2 separate regions of the Homo sapiens genome follow, and region 1 is linked to region 2. Evidence: promoter capture Hi-C in 16 types of primary human blood cells and fetal thymus (Javierre and others, 2016). All regions are on one chromosome and are shown on one strand. Each heading gives the region's core, a stretch centred on a gene start or on the middle of the fragment in contact. The rest is flanking DNA. Distances are from core to core; before and after follow the strand shown. Region 1 overlaps JPH3 (junctophilin 3). Region 2 holds the start of C16orf95 (chromosome 16 open reading frame 95).

Region 1 (5,471 bases), core at 171-2,670, 330 kb after region 2:
GAGGGCGAGACCTGAGACCCATGCAAAGGAGCCGGGGCCAGGGTGGGGTGGGCACGGCTCCTACTGAGTCCCCAGCCCTTGGGACGCTGGCCAGCCAGCCTTGGCATGGCCAGCATCCCTGTGTCTCCTGGGGAGGCATTTTACTTAATGGACAGAAGGACAGACAGACGGGTGGAGGGAGTGAGAGGGAAAGGATGGGTTTGCAGGCTGGTGCAGCTGTGAAACTGACGGAGCCCACCCCCTGCCAACCCCCCGACAGCCTTTGAGGCCCAGCAGCCCATGCTCCCTGGCAGGTTGCGGCTTGCCTTCTGCACTGGCGGAGTCCGAGCTGACTCCGTCCCTTCGCCCGAGCGGGCGTCGCGGGGAGGGAGGTGGTTCCTGCTTCCGCATGCGCACAACTGGGGTCTTGGATCGTAGCTCCTTTGTGAGAAAGGGACTGGCTCACCCGCCATGTCCTGCTGTCCACACACACGGCTCTGCACACCACTCACGGCCTCCTCACCGCTGTGCACAGCCAGCACGTCCATGCGCACCTGTGGAGCCAGGGTGTACGGCTGCACAGGTGCGCCTAGGTGGAGGTCTCCAGGTCACTGGAACTTAAAGTGTCCAAGAGAGGAGGTGTCAGGCCTCAAAGGGGCACTAGGAACTGGCGTCTCACCCTTGCCTCTGAGACCCGCAGACCCACATCCAGCCTGGGCTGTCGTGGCTGAGTGCCCCAGGCCGGTCGCCTCCCCTCTCTGGGCTGGGTTCCCTGCTGAAGGGGGGCGGGGCTCCCTGCTCCCTGTAGTGGCCTCGGCGTGGGGCCGGGCCTGTGGTTGCACCATCTCCATTGGTGTCATCCTCCCCCAGCCCTGCTGTGACAGGCATGGGAGGCAGGTGTGTTTGTGAGCTCACTGGTGCGACCCTTGGAGGTGGGAGGCTACACAGTATTTTTGGTCATCAGAGGATGGAGGATGAGCCTGCATTCTGGGCTGCAGGGCCTGGAGCTGTGCTTTCTCAATGGACTTAGAATTTGGGGAAAAAAAAAAGGAAAAAAAGGAGGGAAGAGAGTCTGCCGCCCTGGAGAGTGAAGCTGATGAATGGCTGGCTCAGGCGCCCACAGCCCCAGGGCCAACCCTCCACTGGAGCATGAGAGCGGCCGCACCACGTGGGCTGAGGAGTGACTGGCCCCGGGCGGGCTCCTGCCACTATCACAGTCGAGAGATGCGAGGGAGTTGTAGGGCAGCTGGCACTGTCCTCACCCGCCCCGGCCGGCAGGGCTTGTCAGGCCGCGTGAAGTGAGAAACGGTTTGCGGTGTCCTCCGCGGAGTGCCGGGCCCTTCCCCGGAGAGCAGCTCTGCAGGGAAGGGAAGTGGGTTTTCCTGGAAAACGGGGCGGGAGGTGTGGAGCTCGGAGAGACTGAGGTCCTGCACTGCTAAGGGGACTGGCCCCGGCCCTGGGCTGGGAGAGGGGGAGCTGGGACTCAGCCCAGGGTGGAGTCACCATGGGTTCTAAGGCACAGGATGGATACCCTCCTCGGCCATGTGACATCATTGTTTGGGATGCGCCCAGTGTTCGGAGCCTTCGAGGCTCTCCAGGTGCCTGGAGGGCTTGTAGAAATGGTGGTCAGGCCCCACGCCCCAGACTTTGTCTCATCATGTCTAGGTGGGGGCCCCAGCACCTGCATGCTGACCTGGTCCCCAGGACGCAGATGCTGCTGGCCTGAGCGTCCCCGGCTGTCTCCTGTCTGGTGTGGGTGCTGCCGCCGGGAGGCCTTGGCCCCACGGGGAGATGAGGCATCACACACGCAGCCACAACACGGGTCGGAGGCAGAGTCCAGCCCAGCAAGGGTGTGGCAGTGGAGACGAGGGAGGGGTGAAGCTGGTGGTTCCAGGAGGTTCCGTCTGGGTGAGACCCTCTGCTGCAGAGAGGGGCGGGAGCCAGTGGCCCCGCGGAGCTGAGGTCATGTGAGAAGGGGCTGCAGTCTCTTCTGTGTCATTCTCCTGTGGGGTCAGCCTCACCCCAGTGGGAACTCCCACTAGTGAAAGTCTGAGATGGCCCCATCCTGCCGTGTCGCCTAGCAGTGCACCACAGGGCATTCGGCCCCTCCTGCCTTCACACACTCAAGACGTTTTCATGACTCATCTCCTGCCAGGAGGGCACACACAGGGCACCTTTGCACGGCGCTGCCTGTCCTGAATGCCTCGCTGTCCCCGGGTGGACATAGGAATTCATCACAGTCCTCCTCGAAGCCCGGGTTGCTCTAGAAGATGAAACTCAATTGCTGTCCTTGATCTGCTGCTCACTAGAGGCCCTGGGTTGGGAATCGGAATGTAAATGTGTCACCCATCCTAGAGAAGAAAGTCCTGCAGTGTGACATGGCTTCATTTTCAACAGCTGAGACCCTCTGCCACAACAACTCTCACAGCCCCCTCATCCCCACCCGCCGTGGAAACCAAATAAAAGCAGAAAGCTCTGGTGGAAGCCGAGCTGGGGGCGATGGGGCAGATTGTAGCCCGTTTCTCCTTCCCGTCCCCCTCCCCACTTTGGCCCCTGGGACCTGCTCAGAACCCCAGGGTGAAGGAGACATCTCAAGTGTGACCCATTGGCTGCTTCTGCTGCGGGAGAGGGAGAGACGGGGTGGCCCATGTGAAAGCTATGCCTCCTGCAGCCCCGCAAAGCCTGCAAAAGCTCAGCCAGGATTTGATGGGATTGTTTCTGCTGGGACCCCCTCTCTGCTGCGTCTCGTGCAAACGTTGCTGTGAAGGGATGCCAAGGGGTTTTGCAAAGCAGAAACCCAAGCTGAGAGGAGGAGAAGGGATTGTTCTGGGGGCAGGCCCACCTTGATTCAGGGGGTTTCGCTTCATTGTGCTTTGCAGACGCTGTGTTTTTACACATTGGAGGTTTGTGGCACCCGTGCATGGGGCAAGCCTCTTGGTGCCGTTTTCCCAACAGCACGTGCTCACATCGTGTGTCCGTGCCACACTTTGGTAATTCTCACGGTATTTCAAGCTTTTTCATGATTATATCTGTTCATGGTGATCTGTGATCAGTGGTCTTTGAGGTTACTAGTGTGGTTATTTTGGGATGCCACACATCGCACCCATATAAGACAGTGAACTTAATAAATGCTCTGTGTTCTGACCAATCCTCCAACCAGCCGCTCCCCCATCCCTCTCTCTCCTCTGGTCTCCCTATTCCCTGAGACACAACAGTATTAAAATTAGGCCAGTTAATAACACTCCAATGGTCTCTAAGTGTTCATGTGAAAGAAGAGTCTCACATCTCTCACTTTAAATCAAAAGCTGGAAATGATAAAGCGTAGAGAGGAAGGTGTGTCAAAAGCCGAGACAGGCCTCATGCACCAGGCAGCCTAGTTTTGAATGTAAAGGAAAAGTAATTGAAGAAAATTAAAGTGTTACTCCAGTGAATACATGAATGATAAGGGAGTGAAACAATGTTATTGCTGATATGGAGAAAATTTTAGGGTCTGAAGAGAAGATCAAACTAACCACAAGCCTGATCCAGAGCAAGGCTCAACTCTAATGCTGTGAAGGCTGAGAGAGGTGAGGAAGCTGCAGAAGAGCTGGAAACGAGCAGAGGCTGGTTCATCAGGTTTAAGGAAAGAAGCCGCTTCCAGAACATAAAGTGCAAGGTGAGGGAGCAGGTTACCCAGAAGATCTGGCTAAGATTGTTGATGAAGGTGGCTACACTAAACAGATTTTCAGTGTCGATGGAACAGCTTTCTATTGGAAGGAGATTCCATCTAGGACTTTCATGCTAGGAAGAAGCTAATGGCTGGATTTGAAGGACAGGCTGACTCTCTTGTTAGGGGCCAGCACAGCTGGAAATGTTAACTTGAAGCCAGTGTTCATTGAACATTCCAAAAATCCTAGGGCCCATAAGAATTGTGTAAAATCCACTCTGTGCTCTAGAAATGGAACAACAAAGACCTGGATGGCTGCACGGCTTACAGCATGGTTTCCAGAATAGTTTTAAGCCCAGTGTTGTGATCTACTGCTCAGAAAAAGATTCCTTTTAAAATATTACTACTCACCCCGGAGCGCCCATGGAGATGTACAGGAAGATGAATGTTGTTTGCGTGCCTGCTAACATAACATCCAGCATGCAGCTGTGGATCAAGGACTAATTTTGACTTTGAGGTCTTATTATTTAAGAAATACATTTAGTAAGGCTGCCATAGATAGTGATTTCTCTGATGGATCTGGGCAAAGTCCATTGAAAACCTTCTGGAAAGGATTCACCATTCTAGATCCCATTAAGAACATTCGTGATTCAAGGTTGGAGGTCAAAACATCCACATTAACAAGAATTTAGAAGAAGTTGATTCCAGCCCTCATGGACGGCTTTAGGGGCTCAAGACTTCAGTGGAGGAAGGACTGCAGATGTGGTGGAAATAGCAAGAGAACTGGAATTAGAAGCGGAGCCTGCCGATGGGACTGCATTGCTGCAAGCTCACGACCACACTCGAAAGACTGAGGAGTTGCTGCTTAGGGGTGAAACGAGAAAATGGTTTCTTGCGATGGAATCTACTCCTGGCGAAGATGCTGCAGACATTGTTGAAGTGACAGCAAAGATTTAGAATGTTCCTTCAATTTAGTTGATAAAACAGCAGCAGAGTTTGAGGGGATTGACTCCAGTTTCCAATGAAGCTCTACCGTGAGTCAAATGCTATCAAATAGCATCACATGCTACAGAGAAATCTTTTGTGAAAGGAAGAGTTCATTGATGCAGCCAACATTGTTGTCGTTTTTTTTTTGTTTTGTTTTGAGATGGAGTCTCGCTCTGTTGCCCAGGCTGGAGTGCAGTGGCACGATCTTGGCTCACTGCAAGCTCCGCCTCCCAGGTTCACGCCATTCTCCTGCCTCAGCCTCCCAAGTAGCTGGGACTACAGGCGCCCACCACCGTGCCCAGCTAATTTTTTTGTATTTTTAGTAGAGATGGGGTTTCACCGTATTAGCTAGGATGGTCTCGATCTCCTGACCTCGAGATCCGCCCACCTCGGCCTCCCAAAATGCTGGGATTACAGGCGTGAGCCACCGCGCCCAGCCTGTTAGAAGTTGCCGCCTCAGCCTTCGGCACTCACCACGCTGATCACCCACAGCCAAGCCAAGATCCTCCATTGAAGGCTCAGATTATTGTTCACATTTTTTAGCAACAAAGTATTTTAAAATTAAGATTTGCAATTTTTTAAGATATAATGCTATAGCACGCTTAATAGACTACAATATAGTAGAAACATAACTTTTTTCTTTTTCGTGACAGGGTCTTACTCTGCCGTCCAGGCCGGAGCGCAGTGGTGCCATCACGACTCACTGCAACCTTCACGTCCCGGGCTCAAGTGATCCTCCTGCTTCCGCCTTCCGAGTAGCGTGTGGGGAGGGTGCACGCAGCTGGGCTAGGATGGCCTGGCTGGGGTCAGCCCCCGTCTGTCCTGGAGGCCAGGCAGGTGCGGAGCTTACGGAGGTGGC
Region 2 (5,634 bases), core at 732-3,231:
CGCACATGAGTGCTGCCTTTATGGCCATCTGTCACACTCTGGTGTGCAAGAGCTTCCACATCCATCCCATGTGACCTTCGCAACACCCTCAGGCAGGAAGGAGAGGTGCTGCCATCACCTCCAGGGGCACACGGAGAAGCTGATGCCCAGAGCAGGTATATTAGGTGGCCTCCTGAACTCTGAGGTGTTGTGAGGGCCTGGGAGGTGTTCTGGAGGCCCAGGGATAGCTCCTGCAACCACACTTTTGTGTTTGGAGGATTCTCTCATGGGATGCAGCTTCTGGACCCACATTCCCTGCTCTCCTCACCCCACAGGGATATGTTGGGGTCAGGGCCAGTGGCTGAGGATTTGCTTTCCTTACCGAATGACGGGGGAGGCACACTTCTTTCTTGTAGGTTTGAAATGTGCTATTCCTAGAAGAGAAGAACAGAAAAGCTTAGGGTTTGTGTAAACTAGGGGGCAGGGATGCTAGAGCACAGGCCTGGACCTGTCTTCTCAGAACTGACTCTTAATAATAAAGCCCACGGGTGGTGGGGATGGGGGGATCCTCTGAGCCCAAGAAGAGTGAGAGGGTGACATCAGAAGCAGGCGTGTGCTAGCTCATGCGTGAATGTCTAGGGGCTCCTGGGGGCTGGCTGTCATGGAATCCTGCATTCCCAAGCCAACCAGCTTCAAGCTGACTCCAGCTACACTTGTGCTTGGAGCATCAGAAAAGACAGGAGCATTCCAACCTGCTGAGAACTTTCCAAGACATGTAGCTGCCAATCACATCACCTAGGATGATCTGTCAGACACCCTCAACTTACTGAAATACTGAAGAAAAAACATCGTCAAACTGTCCATTAATGAACCTCCTTCCACTATAAAAACCCGGGTGCTTTGTCTCTGGGATGACAAAGCACTTGGGGTTACACAGCCTGTGTGGCTCTTCCCTGTTCCACTCCCCAACAAACTGCTTGAATGTTGGCTGGATGAAGCGTCTCCAGTGGGTGCAAAGCCCTGCTTCCCTGACAGTAGTGGGTCAAAGTGCTTTGTATGTGGAAACCGTAAGAGCGATATAAGTGTTTTTGGGTTTCATTGTCATAATAACCATTATTATTATTGCTATTTTTGTGAGAGTAATAGGTTCACGCATCAACTCTCCCAGATAATGCTTGAAAACAGAGGATGGGGCACTGCCCTCCACAGCATCCGAGGCCCCTTCTGGTAATGACAGCACTGCTATATTCCTGGTGGGGAGGGGGGGGGCCACAGCCATCTCAGTCCTTGTAGTTCAGGTGGGCCAAACTCACCACTGCCCAGCCTGGAAAGCTGGGAAAAAAAAGAATCTCCTTTTTGTTGAGGTTGATAATCTGATAACATGTAAACCTCAGGAGGTCCTGGTGATCATCTTGCCTCCACAAGGGAAGCCAGCAAAAAGGAAGGAAGCTGAGAGATGGAGAGAAACCTTCCAGGACCATGGTCAATGTGTACCTGGATACATCCATGCCTGAAGGCCTACTTCTGACATTTTCAGTTATGTGGAACCATCAGTTGCGTTTTTGTTAAGCCAATGTAAGTGAGGTTCCTGTGGGTGGCGGTCAAGAGTTCTGCCTGTGCATAGGTCATGGAGCAATGCCGGGCCGGGAACTCACAGGCGAGGTGTCGGGTAGCCGCGGGCAGGATTCAGGACTCACTTGCCTGCCATCCTGCGCGCTGGGTGTGAGTGCCAACCTGCAGAGCCCGACGCACCCCGCGCCCGGCCCCCCGGCAGCAGCGCCTGAGGCTGCTCCAGTGGCCTCATGATGATGGTGACAACGCCGCGGGGACGGTGGGGACCGGCTCGCACGCATATGGCTTCTTATGGCTGACGCGCCCTTTCACACACACATCGTCCGCAGGCCCTGACGCCCTGGCTCCCGCCTTTCCCTCCTGCCCCAGGAGGAACCCAACCCGAGCTCAACCCCAGCCCCAACCTCAACCGCTCAGAGGAGCCCAACAACGCCCGCGCGCCCGCCCGTCCCGCTGACTAGCCCGCGCCCAGCCAATCAAAATTGGCCTTCTAGGTATGTGACCTTAGCTGGCAGCTGATTGGTCCCTCACGAGAGACGCGGGGTCAGCGGCTCAGAGCGCGGCTGTGTGGGGCTGCGGGGCTCCCGCCATGCCCGCTGGGGTAGGTCCTGCGGACCCCGGCCACTGGAGCCACTCATCATTTCCGACGGATGGGCCGGAGGGGCCGCCGGCCGCCCCAGCCAGGGTCTCGGTAGCCTGCAAGGAGAGAAAGAGGTGGGAGCAGCCCGCGCGGGGCCCTGCGTCTTGCATAGGCGCTTCTGGTAAAATCACTCCTTTATCTCAGATAATGAGTTGGCGCTGGATCGCTGCGTCCTCAGGTGGGGCTCGAATCGTGACTTTTAGAGAAATAGGTTTTCTTTCTTTTTTTTTTTTTTTAACAACATGGGGTTTAAAGGGCGCGGAATTGGAAGCAGTCGTCACCCGGAGGCCTGGGCGTGCAAGCACCGAAGCTCTGGCTGGCCCTGAGCCTCCCCACCCCACCCGCTCTTTTCGCTGGAACGCGTGTACTTTGGGCAGTTGCTGACGTGGAGACAGGACGTATGTCTTCATATTTTAGTAAAACCCAATGCCCTCTGCCTCTCTGATTATGTTCTTTAAGTTATCGCCAGTTCCAATTTGTATTTCTTGGAAACGGTTGGGTCTTCCCTCACTTTTCAGTATTTTCATGTAGACTCAAATACTCTGGATTAATATTTGTATTTGCCCAAACCATCACGAGCACCTCTTACCCTGATGGGCAATACTTCAGTGTGCTGCGTTCTGGCCACAGAGCAAACAGGGTGCTCCCAGGCACTGCCCTCTCGGATTTCTTGCCTTGTTATTTAATCATTAAGATCGTGACCTATGAGCAGGACTGTTTCCAGCCAGCACATACACATGTCCTCTCCTGGCCAGCATCCATGCTGATTAGACGGTGCCCCTGCCATACTAGCTGCCTAATATTTCAGATACCCCACCCCGTGTGTGTGTGTAAATCATGTCACTGCCCTCTTTGTAGCTAATGACAAAATTCCAAGAGTCACCATTAGCCTAGCACATTATGCCTGTCTCATTTCTGCCCACTTTGGAGCACTCGGCTTCTCTGCTGTTTTCCTCCAGAGCACACTGAAACACTGCCATAGCACAGCAGGGCATAGAAGACAGGCTCATGCTCCCCTGGACGCTCAGGCCTTCACCTCGGGCACACTAGGTCTTGTCATTCCATGTCAAGAATAGCTCTTCACTGCCCTCACCCACCCAAGAATGGCTAAAATTAAAAGGACTGACAATACCTAGTTTGTCGAGGATGTCACAGCTGGAACCCTCATACATGGCTCATGAAATTGATAAAACCACATTGGCAAACTGGTAGTATTTACAAAACCTAAACATATGAATACCTGATGACCAACTAATTCCTCAACTCACCCAAGAGAAATGAGAGCTTATGTGTACCAGAAGACATGAACAAAACTACCCACAGCAGCTTTCTTCCTGATGGCCCCAAACTGGAAATGATCCAGATGTCCATCCATAGGAAAAAAAGATTTTAAAAAGAAAGTATGGCATGTTCACAGAGAGGAAATTCTGTACAACAATGGAAATGGGCACACAACCACAACCCACAACAATGTGGATGAAGTGTACAATGAAGTCAGACCCCAGAATGTACAGACAATTCCATGTGTGTGATGTTCAAAACCAGGAAAGCAAATCCATCATGACACAGGCTGGGGATGTGAAGGAAACTCCAGCCACCCTGCCCCTGTGCTCTGAGTAACAAGGCCTAGATCCCAATCCTTGCTCTGCCTCTTATCAGAGACAGGTATCAGACAAGTTGCCTAACTTTTCTGAGCTTCAGTTTTATGTCTAAAATAATGATAACCATAGAACCAATCCCAAGGAAGTTTCAGAAGATCAAATATGAAAGAGCATGAAAGGTGCTCAAAAACCAGGGACTGTCATGGTAGCTCACATCTGTAATCCCAGCACTTTGGGAGGCCAAGGTGGGAAGATCTCTTGAGCCCAGGAGTTTGAGACCAGCCTTGGCAACGTAGTGAGACCTCATCTCTGCAAAAAATTTAAAAATTAGGCATGGTGGCACATGCCTGTGGTCCCAGCTACTTGGGAGTTTGAGGTGGGAGGATCACTTAAGCCCAGGGGGTTGAGGATGTAATGAGCCATGATTCCATCCAGCCCGGGTGACAGGGCCAGACCCTGTCTCAAGGAAAAAAAAAAAAAAAGCCAGACAGAGTCCAGCACACGTCAGTTTGTGACGTGAGTGTGCTTCAGGCTGGAAGTTTGGCCACTACCACTGCCTGTTTTAGGCTTTTGTTTCCAAAGCCCCCAAGTAGAGGGAAAGAGGAGCAGAATGAGATCTTTGTGAACCCAAGGTAATGGGTACCCAAGCCAAACCCACAGAACCTCCTTGATCCCAGGGAGAGAGTTGCAGGTTCCTCCCAGATCACACCTCCCCAGGCAGCCTATACCCAGACAGAAGCAGGGTTCCTGGGCACAGTTGTGTGGTTTCTTCACTAATCAAGGGTCCCTTGCCAAGAACACAAGTGAGGCTTGCATTTATCCTGTGCTCAGCTAACCAAGTCATGCACCCCAGCCTGGGCCTTAGCCTGCTCCAAAGCAGCGCCATATGTGAACTTACACAGGAGCACCCTGGGCTAGTGGTGGCCCTGCAGAGAGGCCTGACACCTGAGCAGCAGAAGCTACCACCAGACCAGAGGGGACCATCAACCTGGCTAGACAGGGCAGAGAAGCAGTGGGCCACTGAGGCAAACAGCCTCACTTTCACCTGCTAATGGCTCCTTCCAACTGCGAGAGTTGCTTGACCCATGTGTGGGGACAGCCATCAGCAGTGACAGGGTGGGGTGAATGTTCCAGCCACTCCACTCTGCAGTCAGGACAACTTCAGGACATGTTCTGCACTGGCTCCTGGCATCCCCCGCAGGATGGCTCCAGCCGCCTGTGTCCTGACCTTCTTGGTCATGCCTGTAGTTCCGCCTCCTGTTGTTCGAGGCCATCCTGACTAACACGGTGAAACCCCGTCTCTACTGAAAATACAAAAAATTAGCCGGGCATGGTGGTGCATGCCTGTAGTCCCAGCTACTGGGGAGGCTGAGGCAGGAGAATCACTTGAACCCGGGAGGCAGAGGTTGCAGTGGGCTGAGATCAGGCCACTGCATTCCAGCCTGGGCAACAGAGCGAGACCCCGTCTCAAAAAAAGAACACTGAGTACACCGTAAGGGATGGCGAGGATGTGGCACAGGGGGACTCCTTCATCCGCTCTGGAAAATGTGGCAGTTTCTCCTCTGATGCAACATGTGCTTAACATGTGACACAGCAGTCCCACTTTTAGGTATTTAAAGGAATGAAAACTTATGTCCACACAAAAAATCACACAGATGTTTATAGTGATTTTATTGATAAAGTGTCCAACTGGAAACTGCAAGTATTCTTTCTGGGGACACAGATACATTGTGGTGCCTCCACCCTGTGAATCCTGCTCAGCAATCCGAGGGATGAGCGGTTGATTCAGGCAACACCGCGGATGGATCTCAGGGCATCGTGCTGAAGTCCCACATTCTAGCA

Evidence for each region. Contacts are between HindIII fragments. The CHiCAGO score rates a contact against its expected background, and 5 or more counts as called.
Region 1: a fragment that was not itself captured here is called in contact with the fragment with the promoter of C16orf95 in region 2 in 1 of 17 cell types (M0 macrophages); the score reaches 5.4 in M0 macrophages.

What each region holds. Positions count from the first base shown.
Region 1 is chr16:87,647,224-87,652,694 of GRCh38, forward strand. The region is part of intron 2 of JPH3 (junctophilin 3); the gene reads left to right. Among named protein-coding and RNA genes, the nearest start is that of JPH3, 47 kb to the left of the region's middle. The HindIII fragment of the contact is 3,137 bases long and covers 1-2,989 here.
Region 2 is chr16:87,315,411-87,321,044 of GRCh38, forward strand. C16orf95 (chromosome 16 open reading frame 95) reads right to left here and starts at 1,982. Exons shown (of 7, transcript NM_001195124.3): 1 at 1,681-1,982; 2 at 362-413. The coding sequence starts at 1,832. C16orf95-DT (C16orf95 divergent transcript) reads left to right here and starts at 2,099. Exons shown (of 2, transcript NR_135180.1): 1 at 2,099-2,312; 2 at 2,447-2,633. RefSeq lists enhancers at 1-303, 1,560-2,009. The HindIII fragment of the contact is 6,644 bases long and covers 434-5,634 here.